Regions from separate parts of the Homo sapiens genome. Here all the other regions are linked to region 3. The links are contacts of gene promoters, found by promoter capture Hi-C in human tissues and cell types (Jung and others, 2019). All regions are on one chromosome and are shown on one strand. Each heading gives the region's core, a stretch centred on a gene start or on the middle of the fragment in contact. The rest is flanking DNA. Distances are from core to core; before and after follow the strand shown. Region 1 overlaps MMP24-AS1-EDEM2 (MMP24-AS1-EDEM2 readthrough). Region 2 has its middle 5.3 kb from the start of MIR1289-1. Region 3 holds the start of CNBD2 (cyclic nucleotide binding domain containing 2).

Evidence for each region. Contacts are between HindIII fragments. The study calls those that stand out against the background at their distance.
Region 1: a fragment that was not itself captured here is called in contact with the fragment with the promoter of CNBD2 in region 3 in 1 of the 25 tissues and cell types used here (dorsolateral prefrontal cortex).
Region 2: a fragment that was not itself captured here is called in contact with the fragment with the promoter of CNBD2 in region 3 in 1 of the 25 tissues and cell types used here (lymphoblastoid cells).

What each region holds. Positions count from the first base shown.
Region 1 is chr20:35,190,521-35,193,942 of GRCh38, reverse strand. All of the region lies in intron 4 of MMP24-AS1-EDEM2 (MMP24-AS1-EDEM2 readthrough), which reads left to right. It also overlaps a transcript of PROCR not described here. Among named protein-coding and RNA genes, the nearest start is that of PROCR, 20 kb to the right of the region's middle. The HindIII fragment of the contact is 4,534 bases long and covers 1-3,422 here.
Region 2 is chr20:35,446,981-35,450,653 of GRCh38, reverse strand. It overlaps a transcript of GDF5 not described here. Among named protein-coding and RNA genes, the nearest start is that of MIR1289-1, 5.3 kb to the left of the region's middle. The HindIII fragment of the contact is 8,774 bases long and covers 1-3,673 here.
Region 3 is chr20:35,966,916-35,970,713 of GRCh38, reverse strand. It overlaps CNBD2 (cyclic nucleotide binding domain containing 2), which reads right to left and starts at 2,124. Exons shown (of 12, transcript NM_001365709.1): 1 at 1,901-2,124. The coding sequence starts at 1,951. It also overlaps the pseudogene LOC124904982. The HindIII fragment of the contact is 12,223 bases long and covers 1-3,798 here.

The sequences.
Region 1 (3,422 bases), core at 228-2,727, 780 kb after region 3:
CTTTAAATGTTGGGGCGTCCTCAGGGTTTAGTACTTGAATGTTTTCTCTGTCTAGACTATTCCTTAGGTGATCCCATCCAGCTTTATGAGTTTACATGTTATCTATATAGTGAGCTCTCAAATTTAGGTCTTCAGCCTAGACATTTCCCTCAACTGCAGACTTGTATACCAACTGCATTCTATCAGCATTTCAACTTGGATGTCTAATAAATATCAAATGTAGTATGTACATAATGAATGCATTTCCCACCAAAACCTGCTTCTTCTATAGCTTCCCCATTTCAATAAATGTCAATTATAGCCTCCAGTTGCACAGATCAAAACCTCTGAGTCATTCCTTTGTAATGTAAACTTTATTGAGGCATAACACTGATACAGGAAAGTGCTCAAATTATAAATGTACAACTTAGTGAATGTTCACAAAGTGAGCCTATTGATATAGCCAGCATCCAGATTAAGAAACAGGGCAGGCCAGGTGCGGTGGCTCATGCCTGTAATCCCAGCACTCTGGGAGGCTGAGGCAGGCAGATCACGAGGTCAAGAGATCAAGACCATCCTGGCCAACACAGTGAAACCCCGTCTCTACTAAAAGTACAAAAATTAGCTGGGCGTGGTGGCATGCGCCTGTAGGCCCAACTACTCGGGGGGCTGTGGCAGGAGAATGGCTTGAACCTGGGAGGTGGAGGTTGCAGTGAGCCGAGATTGCGCCACTACACTCCAGCCTGGTGACAGAGCGAGACTCCATCTTAAAAAAAAAAAAAAAAGAAAGAAAGAAACAGGGCATTGCCTCAGAAGCCCTCATGTCTCCCTTCTAATCATTAGCTTCCCAAATGTAACCAATATCCTGGCTTCTAACACCACAGGTTAGTTCTGTGTGTCTTTGAAATTTATATAAATGTAATCATATAGTTTATACTTTTTTGTGTTTGGCTTCTTTTGATCAATATTATATTTGTGACATTCACTTATATTAAGACTTGTAGTTTAAGTTTTTCTACTCTCGTTGTATATTCCATTATGTAAATATAGTATAATTTGTTTCATTATTCTATTCTTGATGGTGTTTGGGTACTTTTTAGTTGGGGATATTACAAAGAATACTGCTATTGACAGAGCAGGAGCACTGTCATCTCGAACAAACACTGCCACTTTAAGTTCCAGCTCCCTTTCTAGCCTCGTGCATTTCAAGGAAATCACTCTCTTCTAAGTACAAATAGAAAGAGCAGACAGTAAAACATAGATAAGACAGCTTGGGTACAGAGGGAGGTGGGGGGAAAGTCTCCTGGGTAACTGCCAAACTTCACCCTCATACGATGGCTCCCAGTAAAACAGTAGGCCCTAATAAGCACATTCCTTTCCCTTCAGGTGCACTAAGATAGGGAAGCTAAAAGCAACCCGGGGGATATGCCTGCAGCTGCAGAAAGATGTATGGGAACAGACACACAACTTTCCCTCCCAGATAAGCACAACAAAGAAACACAGAAGCAGTCCAAGCCTCTGATAAATTCTCCCACCCTGAATCCTTAAAAACACTTAGTCTGTAAGAGAGTGTGGCTCTGACCTAACTTGGCCAGCTGCCCCACTCAAGTTTATTCAGAATAAACCTGTCCCTGTTGACTGTCGAGCCGCCCTTCGTGTTTCTCTCTTCTTTCTTTAATTCTTACAGCTATGACTAATCTTGTATATGTCTTTCAGTGAACATAGGTAAACGTTTCTGTTAGGCATATGCCTAGGAGGCAGATGTTCAACTTTAGTAGATACTGCGGTTTTCTAAACAGTGGTTGTTTCATATCAATTTACCTTACCAACAGCAGTGTAGGAAAGTTCTAATTGGCCTGTATCCTTGCCAATACTGTCTTTTCTTTCCTTCCTTGTTTGTCTTTTTCTTTCTGACTATTCTGATGGGTAATGGGTAAGTAGTGGTATCACCCTTGTCCTTGCCACCATCATTTTTCACCCATATTATTGCCTCCTAACAGGAATGTATGAGTATCCTTGGAGGTCCCTGAGTATTTCTTTGCCTTTTAAACTTTGTTTCCCCCCATGGTAGCCATAGTGATGCTTTTCAAATGCAAGTCAAATCACGTCAGTCCTCTTCTCGAAAGCCTCCAATGCCTTTCCATCTCACTCAGAACAAATAGCAAAGTACAGATAATTGGCTTATTAGGCCCTCGGTTATTTGCCTCCTGCTCTTTCTCTTCTCTTTGCCTGTACCACTTCAGATAAACTGGCCTCCTTGTTCATGAAATAAACCAAGCTTACTCCTCAGAGCTTTTGCACTTGTTCGGTCTATCTAAATTGGCTTGTTCTTCCCCTGGCCACTCTTGCACTTCCTTCATATCTCTGCTCAACTGTCATCTTATTCCAGAGGCCTGCCCTGATTATGCTGTCTAAAACAGCAACTCAGTTATTCTCCCTTCGACCTTCCTTATTTTTCTACCTATTTCCTACTAATTATCTCTGACATTAAAAAAAAATTATTTGTTTAGGGTCTGTCCCTCCCAGTAAACTGTAGCTTCTAAGACAGACTTTGTTTTTGTTCTCTGCTATATTGCTCTATTCCCACGTCCTAAAACAGCGTCTGAACCATAGAAGTCACTCAATAATTTTCTTTTTCTTATTTAGTAATTCTAGTGACCCGACTCAATAAATTTTTTTAAATAAATGCATGAGAAATTGACAAATTGTAACAAGTCCAGAAGAACAATAGCAGGTTACTGAACTGCCACATCAAATAAGGAACCCTTGAAGAAAGTAAGATGTTTAATCTGGAGAAGAAAAGATTGCTGGGCACGGTGGTTCACAGCCTGTAATCCCAGCACTTTGGGATGCTGAGGTAGGTGGATCATGAGGTCAAGAGATCGAGACCATCCTGGCCAACATGGTGAAACCCTGTCTCTACTAAAAATATGAAAATTAGCTGGGCCTGGTGGTACGTGCCTGTAGTCCCAACTACTCAGGAGGCTGAGGCAGGAGAATCACTTTAACTGAGGAGGCAGACATTGCAGTGGGCCGAGATCACACCACTGCACTCCAGCCTGGCGACGGAGCGAGACTCTGTCTCAAAAAAAGAAGAAAAGATTTAGGAGAACAGGACCATCATCTTTGAACATATGTAGGACGGTCACATGCGGTTTTAGAGGTCAGAAGTTGGACTTGACATGCCAAATACTTCCAGTAACAGGGAGTTCACTACTCTGTGAAACAGCCAGTTCCATTATTGAATTGCTGGGTCAGAAAGTTACATTAAACTAACATTTATTTCTCTCTGACTTCCTCTCATTCATTAATCTGTTCCCTGGAATTCCACAAACCAAATCTAATCTCCTCTTCACTTGCATTTGGATGAAATAAAACACCATGTTTAAGGAAATAAGAAAAACTACAGGGCTTTTGTTTTGCTGAGAAAAATAAACATACTG
Region 2 (3,673 bases), core at 13-2,512, 520 kb after region 3:
AACTGCAGGAGAGGGGCCAGTAGGGAACCCCTGAAGAGTGTATAAAAGCACCCCATGATGCTTTGATGATGGATAGAGATGGCTATAAACATCTGCGAGGCCCAGAAAGCACTAAGCCAGCTATTACACTGGTTCAAAGAAGACTTTTCCCACCCCCATCTTCCTCTCCATGTTAACATGGAGACATGTTGAGTGACTAAAGTGAGCTGAGGATGACAGAGAGGGAAAAATAGAGGGAAAAAAAGTCAACCACTTTCCTCTTTCTTTCTCACTGCAAGGTAACAGTCTGGAGCACCAAAACGATAGTCTCTTGCTGCTGTTCCTCTGAGTCCATTCTTTTTTTTTTTTTTTACAGAGTCTCACTTTGTAGCCCAGGCTGGAGTGCAGTGGCACGATCTTGGCTCATTGCAACCTCCGCCTCCTGGGTTCAAGTGATCCTCGTGCCTCAGCCTCCTGAGAAGCTGGGATTACAGGCGCCCACCACCACCACACCCAGCTTTTTTTTTTTTTTTCAGTAGAGATGGGGTTTCACCATGTTAGCGAGGCTGGTCTTGAATTCCTGACCTCAAGTGATCCGCCCACCTCGGCTTCCCAAAGTGCTGGGATTACAGGCGTGAGCCGCGACGCCCGGCCCATTCTCTCTCTCTCTCTTTTTTTTTTTTTAAGAGACAGGGTTTTGCTCTTTCACTCAGGTTGGAGTGCAGTGATTTGATCATAGCTCACTGCAGCTTCAATCTCCTGGGCTCAAGCGATCCTCCTGGCTCAGCCTCCCGAGTAGCTAAGACTATAGGCCTGTGCCACCAGTCCTGGCTAATTTGTTTAAAAATTTTTTTGTAGAGATGGGGACTCACTGTGTTGTCCAGGTTGGTCTTGAATTCCTGGCATCAAGCAATGTTCCTACTTTAGCCTCCCAAAGTGCTGGGATTATAGGCTTGAGCTGCCGCGCTGAAGTTCCATTCATTCATTATTTTTAAAATATTGATTGAGCACCTACTGTGTGCCAAAAGTTGAGTTATGCACTGGGAGGGACCCAAAGAACAATAATAAATGAACTCTGTCCAGAGCCTCTGTTCACAAACTCACATGGCAGGCAAGCAAGTAAAGAAATAGTTCACACACACACAGTGTAGTAAATTCTATAAAGAGGGAGCAGCTGGCTACACAGCATCAGGCCACTATGACTTGTTTGTGAAGGATAAAAACGCTAAAATTAGCCAGGTGTGGTGGTGCACTACTGTAGTCCCAACTATTCTGGAGGCTGAGGTAGGAAGGATCGCTTGAGCCCAGGAGGTTGAGGCTGCAGTGAGCTGTGTTCAAGCCACTGCACTCCAACCTGGGCAACACAGCAAGACCCTGTCTCAAAAAAAAAAAATGCTAAGCAGACAAGCCAGGCATGGTGGCATGTGGCTGTAGTCCCACCCACTCAAGAGGCTGAGTCAGAAGAACCTCTTGAGCTTAGGAGTTTGAGACCAGCCTGGGCAGCATAGCAAGACCCCATCTCAAAAAAAAATGCTAAGCAAAGTGGCAGGGGTGGGGTGGTGGCGGGGATTCCAAGCAGCATGTGCAAAGGCACAGCAGCATGCTAGAGCATGGGATGTGTTAGGAATGCCGGACACTCCTCTTGCTGATGCCACCATCTGGTTGAATTGTGTCAATCTCCCTAGTTGGATTCCCTTTGTCAGCTGGATATTTTCTCCCTGGTCCTGACCCCGCCTCAGTAGGCAGTTCTTATTCCAGTCCTAGCCCCCTCTCACTCACTAAGTCAGGCTCGAAGTGACCAGCGTACCCAAGCTTGAGATTCTTGAAGTGGATGACATCTTTTCACTATCACTCAGGGCTTGGGCAATAAAGGATGTCCAGTCACAGTTCCCACAGGACCAGGTCCTCTCCTTCCTCAAAAATGGGCCCTTGGTCAGGCCTGATGGCTCATGCCTGTAATCCCAGCACTTTGGGAGGTGGAGGCAAGTGGATCGCTTGAAGCCAGAAGTTTGAGACCAGCCTGGCCAACATGGCGAAACCCTGTCTCTACTAAAAATACACAAATTAGCCGGGCCTGGTGTCGTGCACCTGTGATCCCAGCTGCTCGGAAGGCTGAGGCACAAGAATCGCTTGAACCTGTGAGGAGGAGGTTACAGTGAGCCAAGATTGCTCCACTGCACTCCAGCCTGGGTGACAGAGTGAGACAAAAAAAAAAAAAAAAAAAAAGTCGGGGGGGCCCTTAACTATATATATATATATATTTTTTTTTTTTTTTTTGAAAAAAACAAAAAGTCCCGTAGCCAGGACTACAGATGTGCACCACCGCGTCCAGCTTGCCTTATGTTCTTGAGCAACCCTCTTTCCCTTTCTGAGCCTCAAATTCCTCAGCTGCAATATGGGGATAACAGTACTTACCAGCTAGGGTTCTTATACACAAAGTGGGAATTAGAATTAGATGGAGGGAAGGAGGAGTGGAGGAGTCCAGCAAGGATCTGAGATTTCTGAGCTCAAGAATGACAACAAGGTTTCCAGTGATTAGAGAGGTTTCCTGTGATTAGAGAGATTGGGGTGTGAGGGGAGAGGGGAACTTTCTCTTTTAACTTTATAAACTTTGGTATTATTTGAATATTTTTACAATGAACATGATTTAATTTTATAATCAAATATATTTGGTATGAATATCATGCATCGATAAAAAGGTGTTTAAATTTTTTTTTTATTTTATAGAGACGGGCTTGTGCCATGTTGCTCAGACTGATCTCCAACTCCTGGGCTCAGGCAGTTTTCCCGCCTCAGCCTCCCAAAGTGCTGGGATTACAGGCATGAGCCACCGTGCCCTGCCTAATAAAGTTTTTAAAAAGCTGATGTTACTATATTGTGTGGAAAGTCATCTAGGAGACTGATCAGAGTTGTTGCTTCTGGGGAGGACTGAAAGACCCAGGGTCTGGGGTGGGAGGAAAATATTTTCTTTTGCATTCTTTTCTACTGTTTGAATTTTTAAAATCATGAATTCATATTACTTTTCTTCCTAATATGTATGACTTTTTATAAGTTTTAGAATTATTTTAAAAATAAAAATATTTTCTAGAATAAATATGTAAAACATGTGGTTATTTTATTCACACCCCTCTACCCACAACAGACAGACACACGCAACACTCACATACAATTTCCAGCTTCAGATTGTAGTACAGGTATTTGCAGCCCAGGGAAGGAATTTGATTGACTTATGGACAGAAGGCCCAGAGACACTCAACTCTAGCAAGGTGCAGCTCCCGAGTATCCCAGCAGGGGGAGCCCTTGAGAGCGCGTCCTGAGCAGTGGCCACTGCTGCGGAGTCTAGAAAAGAAACCAGGTTTTCATTGTTAAATTCCCACCTATGAGTGAGAACACGCGGGAATTGAACAATAAGAACACTTGGACACAGGAAGGGGAACATCACACACCGGGGCCTGTTGTGAGGTGGGGGGAGGGGGAAGGGGTAGCATTAGGAGATATACCTAATGTAAATGACGAGTTAATGGGTGCAGCATACCAACGTGGCACACGTATACATATGTAACAAACCTTCACATTGTGCACATGTACCCTAGAACTTAAAGTATAATAAAAAAATTTTAAAAAAACATATGTAACAAACCTGCATGCTGTGCACATGTACCCTAGAACTTAAAGTATAATAATAATAAAAAAG
Region 3 (3,798 bases), core at 875-3,374:
AACAAACAAACAAACAGCTCTGGCACAATGGCTCATGCCTGCAATCCTAGCACTTTGGGAGGCCAAGGTGGGCTGATCACTTGAGACCAGGAGTTTGAGACTAGTCTGGCCAACATGGTGAAATCCCATCTGCACTAAAAAAAACAAAAATTAGCCGGGCGTGGTGGTGGGCGCCTGTAATCCCAGCTACTCAGGAGGCTGAGGCACCAGGAGCACTTGAACCTGGGAGGTGGAGGTTGCAGTGAGCTGAAATTGCGCCACTGCACTCCAGCCTGGGCAACAGAGTGAGACTCTGTCTCAAAAAAATAAATAAAAACAAACAAAGGAAAAAAGAGAATGTTCTTTTTAAAGTGTATCATAAACAAAGTGAGACAACGAACTACAGACTGGAAAAATATACTTACTATGCATATAATCAACAAAGGATTACGATCCAAAATTTATTTTTTGTAATCCTACAAATCAAAAGAAAAATACAAATAACCCAATAGCAAAATGAGCAAAGGTAATTCAAAGGGAAAGTTCAAATTACCTATAAATTGTGAAAATATTGTTTTTATTCATTTGTATTTATATTTACATTGTTTGTAAAGAGGGGGTTTCACTTTGTTGCCCAGGCTGGTTTCCAACTCTGGCTTCAAGTGATCCTTCCACCTCAGCCTCCCAAAGTGCTGGGATTACAGGCATGAGCCTTCATGCCCCAGCCAAATTGTGAAACCATTTTTAACATTGCTAGAAATAATGGAAATGGAAATTAAAGTAATAACATGATACTATTTTGCACTTATCACTGGGAACTGGGAAACATGGTACAACCATGTTGAAGAGCAATTTGGCAACATTATATAAAGTTGAGGATGTGTGTACTTCACAATGGAAGAATTGTATGTACTTTATATGTCCTCTTCAGAGAAACATACATGTACAAGGGGATAGCCATGAGGGTAATCATGGCAACATTGTGTGTAACAGTGAATGGCTGAAAACAAATGTTCATTAGTAGGGATCGAAGGGATCAATACATTATGGTTCAGTCACAGGATTGAACACAGCACTAAGTCTGTGTGTGTCAATGTGGATAAAGCTGAAATGATTTTGAGTGGGAAAAAAGAACTATGATGCTATTTATGGTATCATTTTTAAACAGTGTGCCACATACTATATATTGTTTATGGATACATACACATGTGATAATATATAAAAATATAAACAGGAAGGGTGACACCAACTTCAGGAAAGTGGTTACTATTAAAGAGAAATAAAGGGGCATGGGATGGTAAAGAGCTTTCCCTACACCTGTAATGTTCTATTTCTTAAAAATTAGATATCTATGGAAATATGGGGAAAGGTACTTTATGAATAAAATTAATACTTACTGAGTACAATTTACTATTGTCAGGCATTATCCAAAGCACTATTCTGATATGTAAATCATTTAATCAGTAAATTTATGCAGTAGGTACTAGTATTATCATCTCACTTTACAGAGGAGAAAATAAAGGCACAGCAAACCAAGCAACTTGCCTGGGGTCACATGACTAATAGGTGATAGGGATTTAAACCTAGGTAGTCTGGCTCCAGAGTTCACAAGCTTAACCTATGACTCAATGTTGCTACCCTGACTCTATCCTCCCTCGTTCTCTCTGGATCTCATAATAGCAGGAAGAGTGGGTACAGAACAGGACTCAGTGGCTCTGAGTGTGGCTTATGGCTTGCCCAGTGTGGGGGGCTGGTAGGCTACAGGGCAGGGGTCCCTCCTTTGTGCCATGCTGTGACTCCAAAAGGTACAGGATGGCCACCATTCATCCAAGACCCCTCCTACACCTGCATCGACCTTCCTCAAAACACCTGTCTGTTCAGTCTTCTGCTCTTCCCTCCCAGGGCCCTTGCCCCTCCTCACCAGTTCCTTCTTCAGGAGCTGCCAGGCATAAGTTACCATATGTCTCCTCATGGTTCCTGTGCAGGCAAATGGCACAACTAGCCCCTTTGCCTTTCAAGGGGAGGACTACAAATTTTTCCCCAAAAATCCAGTAATACTAGAAACAAATAGATTTCCTCAGTAACAAGGCAAGAGCTCCACTCCACTCCTCCTACCATACCATCAGCTACTGGAAGCCCTGCTCTGAGAAAAATCATTCTCAGAATCTCCTAAGGTCACAATGAAAGATTCTGGAGGCAGGGGACACAGGGATTGGAATGTGGGAGTCTAACATTTATGGGATACTCACAGGCATTATCTCAGCTAATCCTCACAACCACCCAAACTTTTACTCAACTCCATACATAGGAGACTGGGGCTCAAAGTAGCTAAATGGCTGCCAGAGTCCTGGTGAGACAGGAGAATGGCACAACCCTGCTGACCAAAACAGGATCTAGGACCCCCTAGCTGTCCCCATCCCTCATTAACATAAGACACTCCTACCAGTGCCATGACAGTGTACAAATGTCTTGGCAATGACCAGGAAGTTGCTACCTCTTTCCTAGAAAACTCTAAAAACCCACTCCTTAATTTGCATTAACCTGCCCCTTAATTTGCATTAGCCTGCCCCTTAATTTGCATGTGATTGAAAGTGGGTAGGAATGCGTATACTACACTTGATCTCAGCCAAAAGGCTGAGAAGGGATTAGAGATGAGCATAAATACAGTTGCCAACATCTCATACACTGGGTATCGACTCCGGATTCATTGCCCATGAGTTAGCCCTGCCCCACAAGGAGAAGCACTATTCAATAAAAGATTGCTGTCTAACACCACTGGCTCACCCTTGAATTCCTTCCTTGGGCAAAGCCAAGAACTCTCCTAAGCTAAGTCTCAATTTGGGGGCTCACCTGTCCTGCAAAGATAGGGCTTTTTTGTTTTTTGAGACACTGTCTCACTTTGTTCCCAGGATGGAGTGCAGTGGCCCAATCTCAGCTCACTGCAACCTCTGCCTCCCAAATTCAAGTGATTCTCCTGCCTCAGCCGCCCAAGTAGCTAGGATTACAGGCGTGTGCCACCATGCCCGGCTGATTTTTGTATTTTTAGTAAAGACAGGCTTTCACCACGTTGCCCAGGCTGGTCTCAAGCTCCTGACCTCAAGTGATCCACCCACCTCAGCCTCCCAAAGTGCCGGGATTACAGGCATAAACCACCACTCCTGGCCAGGGCCTTTTTTTTTTTTTTTTTTTTAAGAAAGCAGTGTAGCTAAATGTCAGGTACACTTGCTCTCCATTTGTAGCATCCAATTAACAGAAGCAAGGTCTGGTCCAGCCTGGCCAATGTGGTGAAACCCCATCCCTACTAAAAATACAAAAAAATTAGCCGGGTGAGGTGGTGGGCACCTATAATCCCAGCTACTCGGGAGGCTGAGGTGGGAGGATCACTTGAACCCGGGAGGCAGAGGTTGCAGTCAGCCAAGATTGTGCCACTGCACTCCAGCCTGAACGACAGAGCAAGACTCTGTCTCAAAAAAAAAAAAAAAAAAAAAAAAAAAAGCGGGAGGGGGAATTGGCATAAATGGCATGCAGAGGAGGGAATGAGCAGGTGGGAGTCTCCATGACTCACTTTGGTGCCTTATCTACCGCCTGGTCGAGCTGCCACCATCTTGGGCAGAACTAGGTTGTAAAGTGGCCTTGTCTCGAGATACTCTCCAGGTGGGGCAGAGTTTCCTGGCAGGCATACTTTTGGTTGTAAATTGACTATTGTCTCTCAAGGCAATCTGGTGGGAGAGGTTTCTACTCTGGAGCTTTTAAGTAAGCACACAGATACACTTGCTCTAGGAGTGTCTGGTGAAGGGAAAGCAAAAGGTTATAACTGCA